Regions from separate parts of the Homo sapiens genome. Here region 1 is linked to region 2. The links are contacts of gene promoters, found by promoter capture Hi-C in blood cells and fetal thymus (Javierre and others, 2016). All regions are on one chromosome and are shown on one strand. The core of a region is centred on a gene start or on the middle of the fragment in contact, and the rest is flanking DNA. Distances in the headings are between cores, read along the strand shown. Region 1 overlaps OLFML1 (olfactomedin like 1). Region 2 holds the start of FHIP1B (FHF complex subunit HOOK interacting protein 1B).

What was found. Contacts are between HindIII fragments. The CHiCAGO score rates a contact against its expected background, and 5 or more counts as called.
Region 1: a fragment that was not itself captured here is called in contact with the fragment with the promoter of FHIP1B in region 2 in 1 of 17 cell types (total CD8 T cells); the score reaches 8.1 in total CD8 T cells.

What each region holds. Positions count from the first base shown.
Region 1 is chr11:7,509,169-7,515,981 of GRCh38, reverse strand. It overlaps OLFML1 (olfactomedin like 1), which reads right to left. Exons shown (of 3, transcript NM_198474.4): 3 at 4,605-6,584. The coding sequence ends at 5,794. LOC124902806 (leucine-rich repeat extensin-like protein 5) reads left to right here. Exons shown (of 4, transcript XM_047428005.1): 2 at 1,377-1,864; 3 at 1,942-3,859. The coding sequence ends at 2,772. It overlaps PPFIBP2 (PPFIB scaffold protein 2), which reads right to left and starts at 1,983. Exons shown (of 24, transcript NM_003621.5): 1 at 1,861-1,983. RefSeq lists a silencer at 1,888-2,417 and an enhancer at 3,088-3,207. The HindIII fragment of the contact is 513 bases long and covers 4,606-5,118 here.
Region 2 is chr11:6,229,277-6,235,885 of GRCh38, reverse strand. FHIP1B (FHF complex subunit HOOK interacting protein 1B) reads left to right here and starts at 1,250. Exons shown (of 12, transcript NM_001098794.2): 1 at 1,250-1,342. It also overlaps a transcript of CNGA4 not described here. RefSeq lists enhancers at 836-915, 313-1,003 and silencers at 1,046-1,345, 1,526-1,575. The HindIII fragment of the contact is 4,704 bases long and covers 1-3,673 here.

The sequences.
Region 1 (6,813 bases), core at 3,613-6,112, 1.3 Mb before region 2:
GAAACACAGAATGTCAAGTCCCACCCCTGACCTATGGAATCATAATTTGCATTTGAACAAGATCCCCACAGGATTCTCAACTTTGAGAAGCTCTGCTCTACAGTGTTGTCAGACCATGCACTCCACAAATATTTACTGGATTTTCTCTGTATCAGGCTAGGAATTGGGAGGGTCAAGGACCAAGGTCTTTGACTTTGAGAAGTTCACAGAACCATCAGTCAGTCCCCTGCTGTGCCTTCAGACCAAGTCCAGACTTCTGTACTGGACAGCTGGGACTATTTTCCAGCCTTGTCACCAGCTTTCCTGACTAGCACTTGACATAAGAGCCAAGCTGGACCACTGGCCACTTCTCATGGTGAGTCCATGCCTGCCTGCCCACACAGTTGTCACAGCCCAGGCCACACTCTACCCTTCTCTGCCTCAAAAACCCCAGGAGGGATCCTTTGAGGTCCATCACATCACCCTTTCTTAAAATTATCCCAGATTTCCCTGCTCAGATGAAAGACAGGAATTCCCATAACTTTGTTCCTACCGCCTTCATGTCATTGATCTCATTCCACTTACTCTTTTAAAGTCAAAGCGCATCTCCCTTAGCTACCCAGTAAAGAAGGCATCATGGTAAGCAGCTTATCTCTCCAGTAGCAATAAGCTAACAACTGTCACATCACCAAATCTTAAAATAGTATTACTAATAATTGAAATATGTTAAATAAAACATGGATAAATGCAATCAGTGAAAACCTCATCAATCATCCCCATCTCCCACTTCAAATTTATTTAGCTATGAATTTAAGCAAAGTACAAATGGGTTGCCTCTCTTAAGCCAAAGAGAAATAATTTCTAAATTAGATAACACTTACAGCTTTCCATACACCTATAATAATGAAAGACTGAATATGCTGAAGATGAATTATGTCGAAAACCAACTACTTTTCTGTAGTTGACCATTTAACTTCACATAATACACTACAAATTTGAAAACACTTCAGATTTGTATTACAATCAATTAAGGAGGGGTTGAGAAAGGAGAGAGACGAAGAGAAAGACAGGAAGTAGACCAAAATATAGAAAAGGGACACGGATCTATACCAAATATCTGGCTGCTCTAAAAGTAAAAATATAATTAGATTCGTTTTTTAAGAAGATTAAACACTGGCAAGAATGCCTGTCTTAATCCTATCCAAACGCTGGAAGTTCTGTTCTCTTGTTACATAATCTTATTTTCATCCGAGGAAAAACTGCGGGTCTGGAATCTGATGTGATGAGGTGAGGAGGGAGCCCACTTTTAAATAGGACCGTCCCCATCCTGCAGTCTACTGGGACGCGGCGGCTTTAGATTTTAAAAAGTGTGCTGTATTTTTGCACTTACACTACAGAACTGGCTTTAGCCGAGGCCCTGCATCTAGACACACGCTGTGTCCACCAGAGAATTGCCTGGGCTGACAGACCTAAAGCTTCCGCAACCTCCTTAGGCTCCCTAGTCCACGCCGCTGCTCCCCGGGCTGAGCAGGGCTGGGACGCGCCGCACAGAACTCAGGGACCCCACCTCCCTGCGCATCTCCAGGGCCACGCTGGCACCTGCAGGAGTGCGGACTGTCCGCGGATCCCAGGCAGGGTTGGGTGGAGATTCGCAGCCAACCCACAGGAGTTCTGCCCTCCTCCCAGGCTTCTGGCCAGTGGAGTTGGAGAAGGGTCCCCGTCCTCGAGCCTGGGACACGCTCCGGGGCTCACAGAGACACTGACCCACACGTCCCCGTGGTTCGTAGCTCTGGGGGCGCTCCACTCCCTAGGTAATGCTCCCGACGGGGATCCCAACCCCGACCGCGCGGCAAGCCCGGGGTGTGGGGAGAGCCCACTGACCTGGGTACGGGGCCGAGGCTCCTCTCCGGGCGGCTCAGGTGTGCGGGCCGCTCCCGTGTCCCTCCCACCTTCAAACATGAGAGCCCAGAAGCGAGCGACGGGCCACTGGCCCACCGACCAACTGCCGGACCAAGCGCCCGACCAACCAGCGGACCGACCGCAGCGGCCGGGGCCGGCGCCCACGTGACGGGGCGGGGACCTGCGGAAGGCTCTTCCCGGAGCGCCGCGCCCCCACCCCGGGACCTGCCACAGGGACCACCCCCTTGGGCACCCGCTCCCTCTCGGGCACCGAAGAAGCCTGCTGGGACCCGTCCACCAGGGTTCCTGTTCCCGGGGGACCGGCCTGGTCAGCCCCGCCCCTTCGAACCTGCCTCGTCCCCACCCCCTGGGCCGCGCGTCCGGGCCCCAGCCCCGCCTCTCTCGGCGGACCGCGCCCCCTTCCGGGAGCCCCGCCCCGTTCGCCGCGCCTCCTCCTCCGCACAGCTCCGGTTGCGGGGAGGCCCGGGTGGGTACCCGGCGCTCCGGCTCCCAGTCTCCTGGGCTTCTCCAGTCCTTCAGCGCCGTTCTCCGGTCACAGGGAATGAAAGCGAGGAAGAAGGAAACGGTGTCGAGAATTGCGAAGAGAGAAAGCATAGAAAACCCACATTAGAGGCACTCCCAGAGCAGAAACCCTTCGGAGCATCCCGACTTCCTCGGCCCGCGTGCAATCCAGGCAAAATTGAGGTTGTCTCTGAGCCGCCCTCCCTAAGCAGGTCGGAAAGCCCCCGAATCATCCCAGGTCCCGCCGCGCTGCACTCGCAACCTGGGGTGGAGGTCCCTCTAGTGGTTGGCACCAAACAAAAGTTCTGTCTTATGAAGAGCCGAGGTCAGGAAGCATTTCCCTGTGCCCAGCGCCAAGGTCTGGGACCTTAGGTCCAAGAAAAGCGTTGGCAATGTCTGACCACAGGAATGGGTTCTCGAACTGGGGAGGACTGAAGCTGGAGATCTGGTCCAGCCCCTACCTCCAGCGTGTGGCCTGAACCCGTTTTGGTTGTACTGCTATGTTGTGGCCCTGCCCAGGCCTCCAAGGACTGGCTGCTGTTAAGCTGTTTAAAATCCCTGTAGGCCTCAGATGGCAGCGACACCAGGGACTCGGCATAGTCCCCAGCTCTGGCAGGAGTCACCACAGCCCTAGCCTTTAGTTCTCTACAGGCTGGAGTGTCGACAAACTCCACAGGACACAACTTTTTCAAACCAAATTTACCCTCGCGGTCTGAAATGACCAGTAGGCCCAGGAGAATTTTACATGTGAACAGAACCTAACCCACCCTGGCAAATATGAGACGTGTGGTCACTGCGGGAACCTGGCCAGCAGCAGACCAAAGCACAGCCAGCAGGGGAAGGCTGGGGCCCGCAAGAGTTGTGTTACAACAGGACACCCTTCAGTTCTCTTTCACTTCCTTAAAATAGCAGCAGAGCGACTTTTGTAGACGCAGGCTGCCACAGTTCACACAAGGTCATGGCTGTTTCCGAATCCCACCCTTTATTGCCCTAGCGGAGCCACTCCCCTTACCTCCGCCCCCAGAAACTGCTAGCCTGTTCTTAAATTGATACAGTTACCTTTTTAAATGTTCTAAGTCACCGGCTCTGGAGCTTCTTTGCACTTTGGAACCAACTTGCGGGAAGGAACTTTAAAAATACTGATATCTCGATCCATCCCCAGAGGTTCTGATTTAATGGTCTTGGGGATATGGCCACGGCATGAGGACTGTTAAAACTCCGCAGGTGATTCTTATGTGCAACAAAGTTTAAGAACCACTGATGTAGGCCATGTCGATGTCAGTCTTCACTTAAATCCAACAAGACCCCAGAGCTAAAACGTTCACCTGAAAGAAACCCCATTCCCAGGCCTGCATACTGACCTGCGCTGGCTCACAAGAAGCAAAGTGGTCCCTTAACAGGGGCTTCCTGGAGAAAATGTCTTGACCTAAAAGAGTGATTCGAGCTGCAGGGATTTAAGGTAGGTACCAAGGTGAGTTGTTTGGGGCAGATGTGCCCTGCAGAGCTGTCAATCAAATCATATCCCAGGTGGAATCTAGACAGCACATTTCAGGCAACCTCCCCTCTGTGCCTCCAAAGGAACTATGGTTGCAGGACTCACTCCTATTGATAAATCTACCCCACTATCCTCTGTGAGGCAGCCCACATTCCTTCTATCTGTGAAATAGGTAGGTAATAGGGCAGGTAATATCACATTTATTTATTCATACCTGTCTCATTCCACAAAGGATTTGGCCTCTCTGTACCATTCTGTTAGAACTGTGGGTAATTACACTGTATCCATGGGTTGAGTAATTCCCTTCTGCCAAATATCTACTCAAATGCTATGGAAAAAAACATTTTCTCTTCACTGCCTATGGTCCCAGCCTGGGCTTGGCAAAGACAGGAAAACAGCTGCAAGCACACAAAGCAAACCTTCTCATGTGACCAACCTGGAAAGACAGAGGCTTCAGCACGTGACACAGACTGGCACCACAGCCTGCACTTGTGACTCGAACTTAGCTGAATTGGACAAACACGTGGGAAACACTGAGGAAGCCCCTGTCAAGAGGCATGCTGCCCTCGGTGCCACAGGGCATGCCTGCTGTGGCAGAGTCGCTTGCCTGCTGTATGGCTTCTGTCCAGATTCCAGAATATTTACCAGGGCCTCAGTGTGTTGGGAATCATTCACAGTAAACCTAACACAAGCAGCACTCCCAGAAAGCTTTTGTGCTTAGGGTATGTGGGCAAATATAACCTGATGAGGTTATTTGCTCAGTGTCACTTTTATTGAATTTAAAGCAGAAAGAGAGAAACAGAGGACAGCAAGACAAGAGGAGGCTAGAGTTGGGGTCCTCACCCTTAGACTGGTTTTCTGGAGGAATTATCATTTGAAAGGCCTATTGAAAGGTCTTGTGCAGACATGAAAACTGGCTAAAGGGACAGACTATTATTTTTAGGCTGAAACGATGAACGCATTGACTATAAGAGTAGGTGAACAAACATACGTATTTGATGCTTCCTTGGGCAATGGAAAAACTATGGGATTTGTAGTATTTTCTAGCTGTATCTTTCACTTTGTAATTGTGTTACTCACCTAAACTCTAGAATGACAGCTGTAAAGACTTGTGCATGTTTCACAAAGGTGAAACGAGAATTAAATGATGTGCAAACACTCCACACCTGGAAAGCGATATTCAAATGTTAATATTTTCACTTTATTATTACATCTACCAAGCTTAGTGGAAGGACAGGGCTAGGGGAAATAGAGGTTAAACCTCAATAAGAAATAGTATTTTAAGCCAGGTGTGGTGGCACATGCCTGTAATCCCAGGTACTTAGGAGGCTGAGGCAGGAGGATCTCTTGAGCTCTGGAGTTTGAGACCAGCCTGGGCAACATAGTGAGACCTTGTCTCAAAAAAAAGAAAAGAAAAGAAAGAAATATTAATAGTATTTTAGTTGGGCAGTGAAAATGGGAGAATATCAATAGACATTTGAAAAAGAGGGAAGAGCTTCAGCAAAGGCCAGGGGAGAGAAAAGCCAGTGGTGAATATTAGGGGCTGGCATACAACTCTAATTGTGGGAGGGAAGATGGCAGAGTTACAGTAAATGCTGGGGAGCAGTAAAACAAAAGGCTTGAAGTAGGCTGTATCAGAATGTGGTCATCCTTGAGAGCCAGGAGGTTTGGGGGAGTAATGGACATTGTTGAAACTTTCCTGATGATATGCTCTCATCTAAGCTCTTGGAAGATACCTAAGGCAGTGACATTTGGGAAAGGAGGCATACGTATTTCCACTTCTACACACTCTTCCTGTGTGTGATTAGAGGGATACTATATTGTGAAGGGGCTATAGCCTCACTGTCCTGTAGAACAGCTGCCAAAGCCACAGTGCTCTTTCTCACAGCTGTAATGCATTACTTCAGAGGCAGCTTTCTCTTTGTCTGGAGTTTGTAAATGATCTGGTTTCCTTCATTCCAGGCATAGAGCTGCTTATCTCTGGGGTTGTAATGGATCATGGAGTGACTTCTTGGTCTCTTGGGGAAGAACAAGTTGGGCAAGTCCTCCTCACTGATAGTGCCCAGTGGATCATAGATGCAGGTGATGCGATGAGGGCCCTGGCCCCCAGTACTGTAGACCACATAGAGAACCCCACACAAGAGGAATGAGGCTTCAGCATCCTGGCTTCTGCATGGGGTATCCCATGAATGCTCCACTCCCAGTGTGCCCGGCTCAATCTTTGTGAGAACCAAATGGCTATGGGTGCCTGGCCCAGAGTGGATGGCCCAGAGCCCATGCTCATCCACAGCCAGGTCAATGTAAGTTGAGGGGGAGTGCTGGTAAACCAATGCTCGGCCTACCCCTCCTGGGAGCAGCATTCGATCTTCCACAGTCCTCTTCTGCAGGTTATATTTGATTATCTCATTAGAAGTTGCTTGGTTATGAAAAAATAGAAAACCTTTGTAGATCACTTGGCCTGTTCCCTGCCAGGAAAGTGTTAGGATTTGCTTCCGGGGAGCTGGCTTGGTGTTATCCTCCATGAATGCCCGTATGTTTGCAAATTCCCAAACAGTGTTGTTTCTGGATCCAATTAATAAGTACACCTTTGGAGAGTTATAGACAGCATCTTTCATCCAAGAGCCATGTGTGTCCATCATCTTCTTCACTATTTTCAAAGACTTTATGCCCATCAGCATGTTGTCACAGCCTGGCCAAACAGGAGAAAAAGGAGAGATTACTTTATAAACATGAGCTGTCTGCTTTCTGGAAGGCTCCCCATGCTTGGTAAATCTTGTTTCCTTTCAGGTCTAATACTGATGGGGAATATTTTCAGTTCTACTGTGACATGACCGTCCTTAGAAGAAGGGTTTCCCTTGGAAAATCCTAGAGCGAAAATGCAACATAGGCATGCATTTTGTTTCCTTAAGAAAAAGGGC
Region 2 (6,609 bases), core at 1-2,500:
CTAACTGCAACCTCCGCCTCCCGGGTTCAAGCGATTCTCCTGCCCCAGCCTCCCAAGCAGCTGGGATTACAGGCGCGCGCCACTACGCCCAGTTAATTTTTGTATTTGTAGTAGGGACGGGGTTTCACTATGTTGGTCAGGCTGGTCTCGAACTCTTGACCTCGTGATCCGCCCGCCTCGGCCTCTCAAAGTGCTGGGATTACAGGCGTGAGCCACCGCGCCCAGCCGGTAAAGTACTTTTAAAACTACATGCCTTATCTGAAACTTCTATTTTTCTATTTTAGTTTATCTTACTCTTGCTTGTTTCCCAAGACTCGGCTTAGACACCGTCACCTCCCGGAAGTCTTCCCTAAGCTCCTTCACCGTACCTTCCTCTCATCCTCTATACATGCAAATCATGCTAAGTGCTGCTCCTAGGTGGCCCCCGTAGTAATGTACTTATTACACTACGCTGCAATTCTCTGAGGTCCTGGAGAGCAGAGGCCGGTTCTAATTGATCCGGAATCCAGCTGGGCATGCAGGCACTTATTCCGTGTTCCTTGACTAAGTGCTCAAGGGGTGACGGAGCAGCACAGCACAGCGGTGTTGGGGGAGCCAGGGGCAGTCACCGCTGGGGTACTAAAGTAGAGACCAAGCTATGCACGACGATGGAGCAAAATGAACTAGAGTGCCCGCAGTCAGCCCTCTCTAGGGCTCCACTTTTCCGCAGGCCCGGCCCACCTACTGATTCCTCCTCTCTTTTCGTGATAGCCTCGCCCCTCCACACCCACTCTTCCACTCCAAGCGTCTCCTGGAATCCATGGCCCCACCCCTTTCTCGCTCGTCTTTCTTCCGGCTCCATCTCTCCCAAGCCCCGCCCTTCTGATCTTTCCCTGCCTGTAAAAATCGCCTCTCCTTAGGTCCCGCCTTCTGCCCTCTGGTTCCACCTTTCCTTCCCGGGCTCCGCCTCCGCCCTGCCGGCCTCCACCTTCCCAGAGGCCTTCGCCTATGACACGCCGGAGTCCTTCTGAGGGGCGGGGTTTACGTACGAAGGGACGGAACCAAGAGGAGAGGCGGTGCTCCTCCCTCGGATAGCCGTCGGCGACCCCGCCCTTGCGTTTAGCCGTTGCCAGGAAACAAGCGTCCTTGCTCGGGTTTGGTCCGGCTCAGCCAATGAGCTGGCACGCCATTGCCCAGTCGTGCGACGCCGGGCGGTTGCGTGTGGTGCGCGGGGGCGCGGGCTGCGTGTGGCGCGGGGCGGGGCGCGGCTGGTGCGCTTGAGAAGCGATGGCGGCGGCCTGAACTCACCTAACACCGCAGCAGCAACCGGGCCCGGCCAGGTTCGGCGTTCCGTGAGTGAACGGTACGCATGGGCCAGAGGGCCTGGAGAGTCGTTTGTGGGGATGAGAGACTGGGAAAAGACGGTGACGGGTTTGGTTACTGTACTGGTTGTGAGGGGTTGGCAGGTGGTGAGGGTCCGGGTGTGAGTGTCTAAGATAGGGAAGGAGGGTGAGAGCTTACAGGTGAGTGGACAAATGAGGGGCTGTGAGAGGCTGGGTGCTTTCGGAGGTGCCAAGTTGAAGGGACTCCTGAACGCGGTTTACTAGGGCTGGGGCTACTGAGGGCTGGTGTGAAGGATACCCTGGGACTAGAGTGAGGGGTAAGGCCTGCGCGAGGAGAGAGAGAGTAAAAGGCGCAGGTGGGAGCCTGCGGGGTGGCGGCAAATTGGTGAGGGAGTTGAAGGCGAGGCATGGGAGGAGGGAATTAGGGCTTGTGAGACTTGGATAAAGGTGAGAGGTTGGTTCTGAGGCCTCCTTCGATGGACTGCCCTGTCCAGTGAGAGCAATAGTTTTAGACAAAGTAGGGCAGCTTAGATGGAAGTGTTGTGCACCTGACTCCTCTGCTCCCATGGACTTTCCATATTCTGGAGGACGAGAAAATGAAGGTGTCATAGGCAATAGTACTATGGTAATGAAAGTCATATTTGAGGCTCAGACTTCAACAGAGTAATCACAGAAACTTCAGTTCCTTCGAGTTCCTTCTCTGGACTGCATAGTTGAAGATGGGCCCTCTCATGAAGGGTTTTGCGCTGTGACAGCTTGTGTTTTCTCTCTACTTGCTTCTGGACAACCTTATTCCACTGTTGCTCCTTACCTGTGCTTAACTGTGGGTCTTTGATTGGATTGACCATATTCAGTTGCTAATTCTACTTTTATGGAGGTCATATGGTTTGCCCTATACAGTACTATATTTAGGATCCCAAACAGGATGGCCTTACTCTCCTTTCTTACAGTTGAATTTTTTAAAAAGCTAGTTTATATTATATTTAAAATGTGTGTTTGATGAGTTTTGACATGTGTACACATCTGTGAAATCATCATCAGTCTCAAGATACTGAACATTTTAGCCACCTGAAAATTTATCTCTTCCTCTCCACACCCTGTAGTTGGGTTCATCTTACTAGCATTCTTTTAGGTCCTCTTCTCCCCACCAACCCAAATGCACGTGAAATTCTGGAAAGTTGGTTTGGCATTCAGTGATAATGGCCACTTTCACACTACTAAATTTTCCTCTCTACTGCTAGTCAGCCATGGGGTTGGGACATCCTATTCTTTCCAGACTCAGAAAGAGTTAAGTCTTTCCTTAACTCTACAGTGGACAGGGAGAGACCATTTCCTGAGAATTAGACAGCCTCAGTCCCCATTCTTTTCCAGAGTCTTAGCTTCAGAGCCAACTCCTATATCCTGTGGTATATTCTCATTGCTTCTTTCTGGAGTCCAGACAGGCCTCCATATTGGTAGAACACTTGGCAACTTGCCCAGTCAGTCAGAACTTACAGTTCAGAGTTTAGAGTAGTGGTTCCTAAACACTGGACCAAGGACCCTGTACATGATAAAATTATCATCTATCCAAGATGGAGGGAGAGAAAGACAGTATGGTTATTCATGAAGATAAATTTATTCTCAGAGATTATCATTCCTATTCTTTTGGTGTTGCAGTGCTCTTTCGTTGATGCAGTAATGGTAACAGTAGATGGTGGGTTAAAAAAAAAAAGATCTAATTTACCCAAATAAAAAGTGTCAACCCAATTTTTAATTTTAAAAATTATTTCTATAGCTTTATGAACTTCAGAAATTTAAAGTGATGATGGTGTGGCTGTTGTATTAGGTTGAGGAAGCATACATTTATACAATGATTCTGTATAACTTAACATCTGAACAGCATTCATGCTTTACATAGGGATTTCAAATTTTATTATACTGATTTATATAGATACCTTGTAGACAAAGACAGGAACTTTCATTTTATAGATGAGAAATTAAATTCAGTAGCCAGAGATCATACAGGGATACAGTGGCAAGGCTGAACCCAGAATTTTGTCTCAGAGTGAGAGAGACTTTGGGAAAGAAGATTTATAATAGACACTGAAGGTGATGTGGGAGGATTTTTTAATGATTTGTAATTGTTCTATTTCCAAAAGACAGAAAAGGGACTGTGAGAGTGACATAGGGATGAAGGTTATGTTTAATGCTGTCGCAGTGACATTGGAACAGGTATATATAATACCTGGATCACATCTTGATAGTGGATCATATCATGATAGTGATAGGATGAATCAAATCAAATATTAGATGGTTCTTAGGGACTGTCTAAATCCTTGTTATAATGGAGAAAGCACTGGATTTGGTAAGCTTATTGTTTGCTATCCCAAACTCTGTTGAAATAGTAGTGCATTAAGTATAATGGATTTTGATTTGTATCATATAGTGAGTGGTAGTTCTGAGAGGATGAAACATACATGAGGATGATGATGTAGAGATAGAAACATGTTTAGGGTACTGTGTTAATCATTTATTCCATATCTGCTCTGTGCCAGGCACTCTACTAAGTGCTAGGAGAATGAATTCGTTTATTCATTCAACAAATACTTCTTCAACATATAGTCTGTGCTTGTGATGCTCACATTTTATGGGATAACAACATGAATAAAACATGGTCATCCGAGCTCTCAAGGGATTTTCAGTCTAGTAGGGAGAGAGAGACACATGAAAACATAATTTCAATTTAGAGAGATAATGTGAAATGTGAAAATATATCATAATAGGCTGGGCGTAGTGGCTCACGCCTAGCATTTTGGGAGGCTGAGGCAGGCAGATCGCTTGACTTCAGGAGTTTGAGACCAACCTGGGCAACATTTTGAAACCCTGCCTCTACCAAAACAACAACAACAACGACAATAAAACCACCACCAAAAAAACCCACCAAAAATTAGCCAGGTGTGGTTGCACATACTTGTGGTCCTGGCTACTCCGGAGGCTGAGGTGGGAGGATTGCTTGAGCCTGGGAGGCAGAGGTTGCAGTGAGATGAGGTCACACCACTGCACTTCAGCCTGGGTGACAGAGGCCCCACCTCAAGAAAAAAAAAAAAAAAAAAAAGAAAATATATCATAATGAGTTGATTACTCCTTTGTATCTAGTGTCATCTTTCCCTGTATTCCAAGTATACATGTTTATTGATCTGTGTATCTCCACAAGTATCTCAAAATTAACATGTCCAAAACAGAATTCATAGTCTTTGCCCCAAAAGCCCGACTTTGCCCTCATATCCCCTATCTCACTCCAGGCAAGGACTACATTGTCATCTTTCATACTTTCTGCTCTTTTACTCCCTGCATTCAATCATTTGCTAGAATCTTAATACATTTCGCTCTGTGTTATCTCTCTTCTCTATATCTCCATTGCTACATCTTCACTGTCAAAGCTTTAGTTTAGCTCCCCCTCACCTCATATGATTTTTTTAAAACAATTTTTTGTCTTAAAACTTGCTATTTTCTGGTCCATCCCTAGAATGATTTTTCTGAAAATACACATCTGATCTCCGAACTCCTTGGCTTAAAAACTTTTGGCTCTTTGTGTCCTGTAGGACAACATCCAAATTTCTTAATATGGCATCATTTAGCTTCAGCTTACCTCTCCAGTCTCGTGTGCCACTCCCTAGTCTGTATTCTAGTTTGAATAAATTGTTCACAGTTCCCTAAAACCATGCTGCTTTTTTGAGCCTTGAAATCTTTGTAATAGCTGCTTCCTCTACTAGGAATGCCTTTTCTTCTCTGCCCAGTGAACTTTCCTTATCCTTTAGGATCTAGTTCAGTTTCACCTCCTTTTTGACATCTCTGTCAAGGTAGAGATAACTGTGTGTGACATGAGGATTCATTGCTGTAAAGAGGAGTCACTGTAGAATAGAGGTTCACTTTTGTGAATTGGATGGACCCCGCTGGAGTCAGATGAGGAGATCCCTGCAAGAAGCAGAAGTGATATTGCGGGGAGGGAAGGGAATGAGTTGGGACCATACCCTGACATCCCATTTGTCTGAGGGATGGAAAAGCAGGGAAGAAATGTGTAAGCTGAGCTCTAGTATAAATTCCTAGTAGGTGGTGTTTTTGGTTGGTTGGTTTTTCCCTTTGTATTTCTATGAGATTTTAATCAGGTCATTCAACTTCCAGTATTTAGGGTAACAGCCCATTCATCCTCCTTATGTCAGTAATTAGTCTTCTTGCCTAGGAAGAGCCACTGTAAGGAGAGAGACACCACAGAATTTTACTGACCTGTTCTTGGAAGATCATTTTGGTCTCTCTGTCCAATGTAGGTGTTGCAGGTATATCCCTTCCCCCAGCTCCCTCCTCTTTGCCTCTCCCAGGGCAAAGGTTCATAAGTGAGGCTGAGCCACTTCCTGCCCTGTATCTGCAGTTCCGAGGTTGGTTGTCACCCTTGCTGTGTGTGGCTGTAAGGCTGTATTTTGGGCTATAAGGTGAGTGCCTGATCTTGGCCATTTTGGGTCTGAGAGATCAGCTCGTTCCCCTTTTTACTCTGTGGCTGAGCCTGAAGGTAAATCTGGAGAGTGGCAGGTTCTGCTTTTTTTTTTTTTTTTTGGACTTTGCTATGGGAGGAAAGGACACCATGAGAGGGTGGTGATTTTAACCTTTTCTTTGTCTTGTTCTGAACATTGCAGAGAGTCTAATTAGGTGATAGGAATACCAAACTATAGCTTTCTTTTATGCTTTTGTTGTATGTGAACAGGGCCCAGTTTAAGTATTGGCTTTTGGAATCTGAGATGCTGATTCCAACATCTTCTCTTGAGGTCTTTGAAATGGGATTGTAGAACTGCGGTGGGCAGGTGGGTGAGGAAGGGTCCTGGAGGCTAATCTTCCTTGGTTCCATGAGCAGTACCCTTTGTTGGTCAAGTGGTGGAGCAATAATGGGCACCTCAGGTATACTGCAAGGTAGGAGCAGTTAATGTTTGAAATTAAATTCCAGAAGCTGGAGGCAGTTTAGTTTTGGACATGTTAAGACCTTACTGAGACTGAATGCTTGGCCTTTCTTCAGCTGACTGAGGTATGCATGGGAGGCGATAAGGATGGACACATCAGAGCAGGTTATATCTCTTTTCTCAGTCAGAGATATGGGCACTTGGGTCAAATAGGATCAGGAGAAGGAAGCAGGAAAGGGACATGTAATTTACAGAGTACCTTCTTTATGGTTGGAATGCTACATAGGTTGTTATGTGACTTAATTTTTAAAACTAGCAATACTTATTTCATCAGGAATTTATAGATGAGGAAGCTGAGGCTC